4 separate regions of the Homo sapiens genome follow, and regions 1, 3 and 4 are each linked to region 2. The links are contacts of gene promoters, found by promoter capture Hi-C in blood cells and fetal thymus (Javierre and others, 2016). All regions are on one chromosome and are shown on one strand. Each heading gives the region's core, a stretch centred on a gene start or on the middle of the fragment in contact. The rest is flanking DNA. Distances are from core to core; before and after follow the strand shown.

Region 1 (2,953 bases), core at 89-2,588, about 17 Mb before region 2:
CCGAGGGGCACTCGGCTAATAGCTGGCAATGTCTAATACTTGGTCCAAAGCCCTTGGGTTTTCTGCCTTTAATCACAAGGCTGTTTAGATTCTTTCTGTGACTCCTCCATGCCCTCCTTTCCTATATCCAGGCACCTCATCCATCCCCATAAACATCTTCCGTCCTTTTCCCTCCCCCTCTCCATGGCCACACCCTAGGCCCCATCACCACTGATCCTCCCTTAGACGATGGCAAACGCCTGGCTCCAGGACCCATTCTTCACCTGCCAGGGACCATCCTAAATGTGATCACTGCCCTCCCCTGCTCTAAGCTCCCAGGGGCCCCTGCATCCAGACTGAAGCCCACAATCTTTTTCTTTTTGAGATTGGGTCTTGCTATGTTGTCCAGGCTGGATTTGAACTCCTAGGCTCAAGTAATCCTCCTACTTCAGCCTCCTGAGTAGCTGAGACACACAATCTTTAATGAGGCCCCTAAAGCTTAAGGGGCCCAGCCTGCCTCCTCCCCAGCTCTCCTGCAGGGGACATTCAGCTGCTTTTCAACATTTCATGCTTGGATGCCGGCTCTCTCCAACTCTGGGGCCTCCAATATGGTTTTCTCTTGGGTCTGACAACTCAGATATGTTTCTTCCTGCTCCCTCCCTGGTCTGTGAAGTGCCATAAAACCAAGGGTACCAGCACCATCACCACCACCATCATGAATATTAACAGCAGCTTTCATGGAGTGTGCAACAGGGGCTCAGCACTGCTCTAAATGCTGTACACAGAGCCATTCATGCAACTTGGTGAGACAGGTTTACCTGACTGCACACACACACACAAACACACACACACTCACACACACAAACAAACTGAGGCTAAGTCCCTTGTCCAAGGTCATAGGGCTCCTACCTGAGATCTGCACTTAGGCAGAGCCCTTTACCCTGACCTCATCCTGCCCTGTAATCAGTCTGCAAGGAGAAGGATGGGTGGCTGAATGGATCAGCTGGGTAAGTGGGACTTCCGTGATAAGAGGAGAGTTGGGGAAGAAATGCAGAAACATGACAGTGAGGAGACCATCCCTCAAGCACACTTTCTTCCCCAGATGTCAGCCTAGGTAGATCTCAACTGCTCTACCCAGGCCAGTGTCTTCTTGCCAAAGACAGAGTACACATCCAGCGGCTTCCAGCCTCCAGCCTCCCCGCAGCTACAGGGCCTCAGTGTGGTTCTCTTGAGAAGTAGCAAGTCAGCTGCTGAATCTCCCAGTGTCCTGGCCAGCAAGAAGTAGGCACGGACAGGTGCCCACCTCCCCGAGCTCAGACACTCTGCCTTCCAGCCACACTGCTCATCTCAGGATGACCAGAACCCAGGGCTCTGAAGCCAAGGGAGGTGCCTGGTTGGTTGCCCAGAGTATAAACCTGCAGGGAGGGTGGCACGGGGCAACACCACACATGCTCAGCAACTCAGAGCCCTGCCCACCAGCAGAGCTGCCTGTGGACTTGGCCTAGCAAACCCCAGGACCTGTTGGCATTTGTTTCAGCGTAATAGGTGAGCCCACTGAGATAGGCAAAGGCTAAGATGAGGAAGGGAAGGATGAAAAGCACAGGTGAGAACTCCATCCCTATACACTAGGCCACCAAAGGCTGGGGCAAGAGATGCAGCCTTAACCTGCCCAGGCTGACCACATCCACACAACTGAGGACCACAAACAGGAAGAAAAACGGGTGCCCTTAAAACTTCTTCCTTATTCAAGTACCCCAACCTTCAATCTTCACTGTCTACCCGCCTTCCCACCTGGAAACATCCTGGATCTTACCTGTTTTATTCCCATGAGCGTTTCTCACAATTCGAATGGCCACTGGTTTCAGGGGTGCCAGGAATTCCATAACATTTTTCTGTGAGAAGAAGTTTTTTTCCCCTTACCAACCACATAATAAAAGTACAACCCAACGAAAAGACATGGGGCAAATTTCTAAATCAGAAAGGATTACAAAGTGTTTCATTCTTTAGTTTTTCTCTTTCCTTATACGTATCGCTTCTCCAATTACCTTGGAGAAAATGTGAAAAAGAAAATTGGAGGAGAAATGAGTAATATAAATATAAAATAGCAGTGTCACTATCAGCGTTAAAATAGCGATGTCACGATCCGCATTTCAAGGCACTGTTTCCCCCCTAGATAATTGTATATACTTGGGATTAAACCTGGCTTTTTTCACTTCTCATTAAGCTTGAGTATTTGGTTTTTGTGTATTAGTTTTGCAAGTAGCCACCTAGTGGTTTTGGTTTTGTTAATTAAAGCATGTGATTTTCTGAATGGTTGATACTGAAAGAATTCTGACAAAATTACAAGCAACTCAGTGAGTTTAATAAAACCTACATGCTTGCTACTCTGAAGTTTGATAAGTTGTAATTCAGATATTTATAAACATAGAGTACCAGAACAGATAAAGACTTCAAGAGAAAAAAGGGCAAAAGACATGATCGGGCACTTTCCAAAAGAGAAGATATATTGGCCAGGTGCGGTGGCTCACGCCTGTAATCCCAGCACTTTGGGAGTCCAAGGCGGGTGATCACCCGAGGTCAGGAGTTCGAGACCAGCCTGGCCAACATGGTGAAACGCTGTCTCTACTAAAAATACAAAAATTAGCTGGACATGGTGACAGGTGCCTGTAATCCCAGCTACCCGAGAGGCTGAGGCAGGAGAATCACTTGAACCCGGGAGGCGGAGGTTGCAGTGAGCTGAGATTGCACCATTGTACTCCAGCCTGGGAGATAAGAGCGAAACTCTGTCTCAAAACAACAATGACAACAAGATATACACGATCTACAAATGTGAGAGAGTATGATCCATCTTACAAGTAATTTAAAATATAAATTAACATGAGATGCCAATTTTACCTATCACATTGATGAAACATTAATAATACCCAGGGTTCAGGAAAATGGGCACTTGTAGACTCTGCTACAGCGAGCATAA
Region 2 (3,289 bases), core at 311-2,810:
CTTTCTTCTTTTCTCAACACTATCCTTTTGACATCTATCTAACCCTGTTGAAACAGATGACCGTCATTCCTTTTAAATGTTATACAGTATTAAATGTTGTGCACATGCGTGAGGCATGAGTTTAACTCTGGGGCCTCTCCCTAGAAATGGAAATCCGGGGTCACAAGCAATGGGCATTCCCGTTTTACTGTTAGATTCTGCTCTCCCGCCAGCAGCGTCTGAGAGGTGCTTGGGGTTCCCCTGAGGGTTCTGGGGGAGCTCGGACTTGCGTTCCCAGCAGGCCGGTTGTCGCCTGCTTTGTGCCTAATTTGCGTCACTGGGGTTCCTAGCGGACTCGCCTGCAAGTGTGCTCAGGACTGCAGGGAGGACTCTTCGGTCACTGCGGCTCTCTCCCCATGGTGGACTCTTCTGAGGCGCTTGACTGCGCTGATTTGGGCCTTTATCTGTCTGCATGTCGGCAGGGGCGCCCAGGAAGTCGGGTCCCTCTAGCTCAAGCTTGTTTGGGCTCTTACAGCTTCAGGCCAACAGGGGGCTGGGAAGCTGAGCACTTACTCATTCCGTCCCCGTTGGTAACTAGGGCTGGTAGACGCGTCCAGACTGCAAACAGTATTTCATCATTTTGTCTGTAGCATGCAGCGGCCAAAGCTGCCAACCTATGAAACGCTTTGAGAAGCCGGACGCTTTGGGAGGCCGAGGCGGGTGGATCCCCTGAGGCCAGCCTGGGAGACATAGTTAGATTCTGTCTCTCAAAAAAATTTTTAAAAAATTACCCCTGATGTGGTGCGCGCCTGTAGTCCCAGCTACTCGGGAGGCTGAGGCGGGAGGATCGCCCGAGCCTGAGAGTTCGAGACCAGCCTGGGCAACGTAGCGAGACTCCGTCTCTTAAAAAAAATAAGTAGCCGTTTTTCTGGGTGGGTGCATCCCTCTCTGGTTCCTCGCTCTCCAACTGGCCCTGGTCCTGGGGGCGTGAAGGCTACGATCTGGAGAGACAGAACAGCGGGCTGCCTCTGGAGGACGGGCCTAGACCCCATTCATTCATTCATTCGTTCTGTCACCCACCCGTCCTGCGCGCACGCGAGCCACCCTAAGCCCCAGGACCTCAAGAACCCCCACCCCACGGGGCACAGACAAGGACAGGCTGGCCAGCGCCTGGAAGCCGCGTGCCTGACCACGTCTGCCCGAGCGAGTACCGCCTCCCACCCGGGAGGCAGGAGAGCCGCGACCGTCGGGCCGCGCCCAACGTCTCCCGCTCAGGGGCGCGCCGCCTCGCTTTCAGCGCATGCGCGCCCGGGAGCCCGCCCGGGGCGTCGGCGCACGCGGTCCCCACCGGCCGGCTTGCGTACGCGCTCCCGGCTCGCCCTCCCACGCGGTCCACCGCGCCTCCCGCCCCACCCTAAGCGCAGCGACCGCCCGAGCGGCCGACCGAACCGCGTTGCGTGCGTGCGCGCACGCGCGGGCCACGTGGGCGGGCGCCGCGCCGTTGCCCCGCCCCTTGCAACCCCGCCCCGCGCCGGCCCCGCCCCTGCTCTCGCGCCGGCGTCGGCTGCGTCTCCGGCGTTTGAATTGCGCTTCCGCCATCTTTCCAGCCTCAGTCGGACGGGCGCGGAGACGCTTCTGGAAGGTATCGCGACCCGGCGGGCCCGGCACGGCCGGGCGGGGACAGGGGTGGCGGCGGCGGGATAGGGGTCGGAGCCGGGGCCAGGGCCGGGGCGGGTGGCGGACCCAGGGGCAGCGGGCGGCTGAGTAGGTGGGTGGTGCGGGCCCGGCCGGGCCGGGGCAGGAGACGGGCGTGGGGTCGGCGCTAGCCCCCGCGAACCCCCGTTTCATCCTCCGCTCTCATCCCCGTCCCGGTCCCAGTCCCGTTCCCATCCCTACACCTCCGGCCGCCGTTCCCCGGGCCCCGCCGCCCCGGATGCCGGCCCCGCCCGCCGCCTTCCCGCTCCCAGGCCTGGCCGCCATGGCGCCGCGGGCGGGAGGCCTTTGTGGGGCGGGCACGTGGGGCGCTGGGGGCGCGGGAGCGGGGCCGCCATGGGCTGCGGGGCCGCGCGAGCGCTCGCCTCCGTCCTCTGCCTCCGCAGGAACGCCGCGATGGCTGCGCAGGGAGAGCCCCAGGTCCAGTTCAAAGTAGGTAACCCTGCGGGGCGGGAGGCGGCCGAGCCCGACCGCGTGCGACTCGCGGGTCCCTCCTCCTGGGGCCACGATGGCTGTAATGGGGCCCCGCATCCACATTCTTTGTTTTAAGTGAGCCTGTGGTGGTTAAAGTTCCGTGACTCTGGGATCTTGAGAGGTGAAGTGTTTAGGGTTTACTTCCAAAATGTGTTTTTCAACAGCTTGTATTGGTTGGTGATGGTGGTACTGGAAAAACGACCTTCGTGAAACGTCATTTGACTGGTGAATTTGAGAAGAAGTATGTAGGTATGTGCTGGAAAACCTTGCTTGTGGAAATATGTGAGAAATGGGTAAGTTCATCCACTCAATCGCATCGTTTCCGTTTCAGCCACCTTGGGTGTTGAGGTTCATCCCCTAGTGTTCCACACCAACAGAGGACCTATTAAGTTCAATGTATGGGACACAGCCGGCCAGGAGAAATTCGGTGGACTGAGAGATGGCTATTATATCCAAGGTAGGCATTTGTAACTTGCTGAACGGTTTTTGAGAGGTTTTGTGTACTTCAGTCTTCAAGGTTATAGAAAATCAGGTCTGTTCCAACAAATAGTGTCATTTTTGGGTTAAAAAAAGACAAGTGGACTTCGGGGAGTTGACCACCATTTTGGTGGCAGAGAAAATTTTATTAAAGTTGTGTCATTTGCATGCTGTGTCATGCTAGGCATGCTTTAGAAAAAACTATGACTTACACTGGGACTTATAAGTCATATTTAAAACAATAATAGGCTGTTAACAGCAGTTTCAGTATTTGGAAACTTAGGTTCATGTATGTATTTTGGTGTGGTGATCAATGAATGTTTTTACTGTATTAGAAAACAATAAACACCAGATACTAGACCAGAGGAGATAGGAGATCTTAACAAGTGTTATACAAGACTAGCTGATTTCTTGTTAAATTGTTTGTACTAAGTTGTGCAGAGTATTTTTCTCAAATAGTTTGATTTAAAAATTGCAAGGAAAATGTTCATTGTACCAAAAAGAGGAATCAAGAAAATACTCATCTCTCTTGGAACCTCACGTTGCCGATAACACATTATCTGGAATCATTCCATGCCTTTTGCTTTCCTTGAGCATGTACAAATAAACACAAGAATTTCCCCCAAAAGAATCCTTTAACCAAAAA
Region 3 (3,166 bases), core at 650-3,149, about 14 Mb before region 2:
CATGAGACATTTTGAGGAAAGAAAAAAAGAAAACAAAACAAAACAAAACAAAAAAAACCCACCATGTATTTCTGCAATACTTAAAAAAAAAAAAAAACCCAAAAACTTTTCAGGGATAATGAATGCAAGACAATTCATTTCAGGGAGTAATAACTCTGATTTATAGGTAGCTTTTAATCCTCTGTTACCTTAACAAATAATGCAGTTCACTACTGGGTAGAACCTGCAAAGCCAGAGAGAAGAACCACATTAATTTCGTCAACCCTTCTGGGAAAACAACCGGGAGAAATTTACAGTGTTCAATCATTGATGATTCCCCAAATAACGGAGGGGTTGCAAAAAAAATCCGTTGAACCCATTTGAGAAATAATGCTGATCTGGACTCCGTCTACATTGTGCTGCGTGGGTCCCTCCCTGCTCCCTCCACCCCCACTCTCTCTCTGGCTTTAGAAAAGTAAAGCTGGCACAGACAAATGGCTTCGTGTTGTTGGATAGGAGGAAAAGGACACAATGACTCTTGCAGCCATCTAAGTGAGTAAGGGATTGTGAGAGCATTGAAAAGGGAGATACGAAAAGAGCTGGATGAGCTCATGCCTGCAGACCCAGACACATACACCAGCAAGCCAAAGCTTAGAGCCACATCAACAGATCCTTACGTGCTCTGAAAAGAACCTCTTTGAGAACGAGGCTACAATCTTCCGCGCTTCTAACCCAGCTTTTTGCCGAACTTTATACTCTTCCAACCAATTGACGTAGTCGGTGGGGCTGTAGTGTTTCATAAGGGAAGGCCACCTACGAGGAGAGAAACACCCCCTCAGCTTAACAGAAACTCAAAGGCAGGCGGCCACGAATCCAAGGCAGCCTTGGAAACAGGGACAGCAGTGGCGTCCAGTGGTAAGAGGGACCCCGGCGAGAGACCTAGTTCAAAACCCCACCAGCATTCACTCACTCACTCCCGGTGTGACCTTGGCGTAGCGGCATGAATGATGTCTCCATTCCCCATCTCTAAAATGGGGACAGTTGTAACAACAACAACAATAATAATAATGACAATGACAGTGAGCACTGATTGAGCGCCTCCTAGGAGCCGGGGCCCTGCGTGCGTGCCTCCCGGACATCATCTAATTTAATAAACACGGTGAAAGGTAGGTCTAATGATCACCACCACTCAAAGTCTATGAACGAGGCTCAAAAAAAGGGAAGTCGCTCCCCCCAAGGTCACAGAGGGAGTGTGCAGGGCCAGATTTCATCCTGGGGCCACGCTGAAATCTGTGCCGTCCACAACCAGCCCGGGGATGCTGCGCCCGCCCGATCGATGCATCACTGGGTCCATGTAAACATTTCAGCCCGAAGTCGGGCACAAAAGAAGCGCGCAAAAGGGACGAGCCGCGCCGCCGCCAGCGTCACCCTTGACGGAGGACCCGGCTGCGAGGCGCTCCTAGATGCGCCATTTGGGGACCCGGGGGTCCGCCTGGCGTGGCCCCGCAGGGTCCGGGGCCTGGAGGCCTTTGTCTGTCTGTCCGCGGGAAGGGGTCCGGGGTGGGGTCCGCGCGCGGGGCGGCCGCGGGGAGCTAGCGGGGCGGCTGCCCGGCCCCGGGGGGCGCGGGGCGGTGGGCGCGCAGCCGGGGCGCGGGGCCGCTGGCTCACCTCACCCGGAACTGCTCCTTCCACACCTTCCCGCTGCTCTGGCACAGCTCGCGCAGCCGCCGGCAGGTGCTGGAGACACGGCCGATGTCGGCGGCCGTCAGCGAGCCGCAGCACAGGATGTACTCCAGCACCTCACCCGGCAGGTTGACGAGGCAGCTGAGGCCCGCTACCTCCGGCGCGGCCTCCTCCGCCAGCGCCGGCACCACCTCCATCGCGCTGTCGACTGCTGCCGCCGCCATCTTGTCCGCGTACCTGGGGCCGCCGCGCGCGCGCGTGCGAGAGTGCCCGGGCGCCCCGCCTGGCCCCGCCTACTGGTCTTGGGGGCGAGTCCTGAGATCGCTCCGCCCATCCGCGGGCCACACCTCCCCTGCATCGGCTGGGGGCTGCGCGGGTGGCAGCGCCGCAAAAGGGAGGACATAATTGGGCTCTGTGCTTGGAGCCGGCAGCGCAAGCCGCCTCTAGTCCGGGACAACAATAGTAGCACTGATTCTTTTAAACGTAATTAATGTTTAAAATTAACAAATAAAAATGGTATCTATTCTCACGCGTGCTGAGCGCTTTCTGTGCGCATTGGACCTTTCCGAATTACCCTGCGAACTTTCTCCCCATATTACAGATGGGGAAACAGGTTCGGAGAGTGAGAGGGCTTGCTCAGGATCCCTTGTCTTGGATTTTTTTTCCCCCTTTGGGAAGGAGTCTTGCTCTCACCCAGGCTGGAGGGCAGTGGCGCTATCTCGGCTCACTGCAACCTCTGCCTCCTGGGTTCAAGCGATTCTCCTGCCTCAGCCTCCCGTGCGGATGGGATTACAGGCGCGCGCCACCACCCAGGTTGGAGTGCAGTGGCCGTGATCTCGGCTCACTGCAACTTCCACCTCCCTGGTTCAAGCAATTATCCTGCGTCAGCCTCCCGAGTAGCTGGGATTACAGGCGCCCGCCACCACAGCCAGCTAATTTTTGTATTTTTAGTAGAGACAGGGTTTCACCATGTTGGTCAGGCTGGTCTCGAACTCCTGACCTCAAATGATCCACCCACCTCGGCCTCCCAAAGTGCTGGGATTACAGGCGTGAGCCACCGCGCCCAGCCCCTTGTCTTGGATTCTATTTCAGATCCACTTGACTTTTGCTTGTCAGTAATCTTAACCATATGATGTAATAATAACAATATTCTTGAGTGGGTGCTATGGGAAGCCCTCTATGATGGTGTAGGGGAGTAATAATAATCCTCAAATGTGTGCCCTGATTTTAGGCTAATAGAGGGCAGGCAGAGAGCTCTCCTGTACTGGTTTCTTAATTGTTTCCAGCTCAACAATCCTTCATATTTGGGGAGCATAGTCTGACCTCCCACAATAGGTACCACAGTTATACCTATTCTACAGAAAAGGCAAAGTTCTTCCAGGTGGCAGTCACTGGTTCAAAGTTACAGAGACAAAAGTGCTAAAGCCTGGATTTGAGTCTTCAAAGCGGGAGTTATCACTCAGGATTGGGAGGGTAGTCTCAGGATCTGCACATTAAAAAAAAA
Region 4 (2,941 bases), core at 318-2,817, about 13 Mb before region 2:
CTTTAGGAAAACCCCAGAACTGGAAACAGATTTCTGTTAAAAAGGCAGGCTAGCTACAGATTGCTTTCAGATTGAACTGTAAGGAGGCAATGGAAATCAAACGGAAGCTATAAAAAGATTCACATAGGATCTACACAAACAGTAGGGGCCCTTTTAAAAAGAATTCTACGGGTAACACTCACTGAAAAGAAAGCCCTTATCTAGATGGGAAGGAGAGAGAGCTGCCTTTAACTCAATGCCTGACTTCAGCAAACAAAGAAATGTCATTTCCTAAATTAAAAAGTAACACCACCCCAGGGAATACCCAGATTTCAACCTTCCCACCCACAGTAACAAGCCATCAGCAATCAGAACCCTCCAGACCAGGATGAAGCTTGAACTTGGCTGCAAGATTACCATGAAGTTCTGGAACAAATTCTGAGCCCTAGGCCTTGAACCTGCTCTGAAAATTTCTCCTAAGGAAATTACATTTAAACTCGGGTCCTTCAAGACCTGGGACTCCCGGAATCAATTCTAAATCTATCCCAAGTGGGGTTCCGAGGGAAGGTCGTTGGAGGGGAGAGGGCCAAGGCGTGCATGCGTCTTGGGGTTTTTTTCCCCTTGCATAAGAGACACACCTTTCCCACTGAGATTTTATGTTCATCTGGGCTGGCTTGAGGTATATCCAATATCCTCTGACTTCCACGCTGTCTTCTGATGGGGATGGCAGTTAACAAGAATAGAGGCAAGGTCCCCACCCATCAGTGTATCCTAAATTTGCCTGATCATACATGTCACCAGGGATCAGCGTCTCCAGTCCCGCCCCACCTCCACTGACTTAATCTCCAGTGGGAGAGGCTGGGAATAGATTGTTTCAATAGGGAACCCAGACCCCAGACCCCATTTTTACCGGGTCCCAGCCACCCTCCGAGGAAGGTACTAGGATTATCCCATTTTGCAGATCAAAACTGAGACGTGGGTGGCGGTGGTTCAGTGGCTTGTCCACTGTCACGATCACACAGCTTGTGAGGGACAGAGGTGACTCCCATCCAGACATGCAAGTGCGTCCCCTGGCACCTGGGTACCCAGGGGCACCCACCCCCTTGGGGATCTCCGTTTTAGGGCTTGGTGCCCCCCGCCCCGAGTCCCACCCGGGAGCCCCCTCTGTCCCGGTCGGGGGATCTCCTCCCGCAGAAGCCCGATCTTCCCGATCCTGTCGCCGGCGGGAGTCAGGGTGGCGGCCACTGACAACGAAAGTGAAACAAAGCTGGTCGCCGGGCGCGCACCCCCGCCGGCCCCGCGCGGACCTCCCAGGCCGGACGCCCCCGCCGCGTCCAGCCCCCGCCCCACCCCGCCCAGCCCGCCCCGGGGTCGCCTCCCCCCTCCCCGGGGAGAACGGGCCAGGGCCCCGCCGGGCGGGAACGGGCGCGCCCGGCCCCACTCACCTCCGGCCTCCATGGAGGACGCGAGCGGCCCCCGCGGCAGGCGGCGGGCGCCTCAGCCCCCCGGGCCGCGGGCCCTCATGCCGCCCCCGCGCCGCCCGCCCCGGCCAGGCCGCCGCCGCCGCCCGGAGAGGCCATCAGCTGCTTCCCGTCACATGGCGGTGGGCGCGGGCGGAGACGCGCGGGGGCGGGGCGCAGGGGAAACGGAGGGGGGGTGCGGACGGGATAAAAACGGTGGGGGGCAGCTGAGGGAAAAGATGGAAAATCGGGGAGGCGGTACGCTGACGGGATAAAAGCTGAGGGGTTGCTCAGGGGAAACGGGGGCGGGGAAGACGCGCGAACCAGATAAAAATGGGGCAGGGGTGGGGGGAGCTGAGCGGAAACGGGGTGGGGCGCGAACGGGATAAAACCCAGGGGTTGTGCGGGGTCCTGAGGGGAACCAGCGCCGGATAAAAACGGGGAAGGGAGGGAGGTGAACAGAGCTGAGGGAAACCGGGAAAAGGGGAGCGATAGAAACCGGAGTAGGGGAAGCCGGGCTCAGGGGAAAAGGGGGTGTTGGAGAGTGGTAGAGCCGGGCTGAGAGAAAAACCAAGCAGGGGAAGCGGCGATCCGGGGAGAACGGAGAGAGGGAGACCGAGGGCTGTGGGGGTAAGGGGAACCAAAGGGGCTGAAGCGAAATCGAGGGGAGGGGCAGGTGAAAATGGAGCCATGCGAAGGCCGATGAGGGGGGAAACGGGTAAAAATGGGGGCGGGAGAAATAGGTTGGAGGGAATACTGGCCGAGAAGAAACCTGGGGAGAGCTGGGCTTAGGGGAAAATGGGGAGGGGGTGGAAGGAAGGTGTAATAACCGGGTGCTGGGGAGGACGTAAGAATTGGGGGGTGCGGCGAGGGTCAAGGCTAGGGTAAAACAAGGGGGGCTACTCAATGGCTCCGGTAATGGGAGAGGGAAGTGAGGAGAACACGGGGCGGTGGGGAGAGGAGGGCAGGGTGAAAACCGGAGTGGGGGTGGGAACGAGATAAAAAACGGGGCAGGAGCGATTCGGAAGAAGACTGTCCCCTTACCTACCTACGGCGACAGCCTCGCCTGTCCCCGTCCCCCTGAGAAACCTGCTCTCCCTGTCTACCCGCATAGCCTCAAGAAATGGCTCGCTTGGGTCAGACGCCCCCTTTTTAACATTCCAGGGCCAGGGCAGGAGTCATCATGGAGGCTTTTCATGCCTGAAAGACCCCATTTCTTAGTTGTCCGGTCCCCAGTAGTATCAGTGGCTTGGGGATTTCTTACTGAGCTCAGCTCATTGTCCCCAAAATGCCTCCCCTTACCCCCAACTCGAGCGCTTCCCTTTCCTGCTTTGGGCCCAAGCTCTTCCCGCGGTTCTTGGTGTCAGCTTCATTCAAGTCACTCTCCCGCCTCTCATTCCTTTCTCCCCGCCTTTCTTCGCTTCCCTCCAAGTGCCCTCTCCATTTGCCGGTCACTGGTCCCAGAGCTCCGGATCGCAGTGGTTCCATTTTAAATTTCTTTG

The links. Contacts are between HindIII fragments. The CHiCAGO score rates a contact against its expected background, and 5 or more counts as called.
Region 1: a contact is called between a fragment that was not itself captured here and the fragment with the promoter of RAN in region 2, in 1 of 17 cell types (neutrophils). The highest score is 11.4, in neutrophils.
Region 3: the fragment with the promoter of FBXO21 here is called in contact with the fragment with the promoter of RAN in region 2 in 5 of 17 cell types (naive CD8 T cells, total CD4 T cells, total CD8 T cells and 2 more); the score reaches 15.6 in naive CD8 T cells.
Region 4: the fragment with the promoter of WSB2 here is called in contact with the fragment with the promoter of RAN in region 2 in 3 of 17 cell types (naive CD8 T cells, total CD4 T cells and activated CD4 T cells); the score reaches 5.6 in naive CD8 T cells.

Annotation. Positions count from the first base shown.
Region 1 is chr12:113,950,720-113,953,672 of GRCh38, forward strand. RBM19 (RNA binding motif protein 19) reads right to left here. Exons shown (of 24, transcript NM_016196.4): 8 at 1,793-1,871. Among named protein-coding and RNA genes, the nearest start is that of RBM19, 14 kb to the right of the region's middle. The HindIII fragment of the contact is 1,726 bases long and covers 476-2,201 here.
Region 2 is chr12:130,870,506-130,873,794 of GRCh38, forward strand. It overlaps RAN (RAN, member RAS oncogene family), which reads left to right and starts at 1,561. Exons shown (of 7, transcript NM_006325.5): 1 at 1,561-1,621; 2 at 2,079-2,124; 3 at 2,331-2,415; 4 at 2,498-2,623. The coding sequence starts at 2,089. RefSeq lists enhancers at 601-1,362, 786-865, 1,363-2,124 and silencers at 1,146-1,605, 1,676-1,815, 1,866-2,075. The HindIII fragment of the contact is 6,850 bases long and covers 494-3,289 here.
Region 3 is chr12:117,188,571-117,191,736 of GRCh38, forward strand. It overlaps FBXO21 (F-box protein 21), which reads right to left and starts at 1,900. Exons shown (of 12, transcript NM_015002.3): 1 at 1,648-1,900; 2 at 657-792. The coding sequence starts at 1,886. RefSeq lists an enhancer at 1,027-1,116 and silencers at 1,587-1,636, 1,917-2,016, 2,057-2,116. The HindIII fragment of the contact is 6,345 bases long and covers 628-3,166 here.
Region 4 is chr12:118,059,612-118,062,552 of GRCh38, forward strand. WSB2 (WD repeat and SOCS box containing 2) reads right to left here and starts at 1,568. Exons shown (of 9, transcript NM_018639.5): 1 at 1,425-1,568. The coding sequence starts at 1,437. LOC124903030 (a long non-coding RNA gene) reads left to right here and starts at 1,849. Exons shown (of 2, transcript XR_007063479.1): 1 at 1,849-2,069. RefSeq lists a silencer at 978-1,027. The HindIII fragment of the contact is 4,146 bases long and covers 372-2,941 here.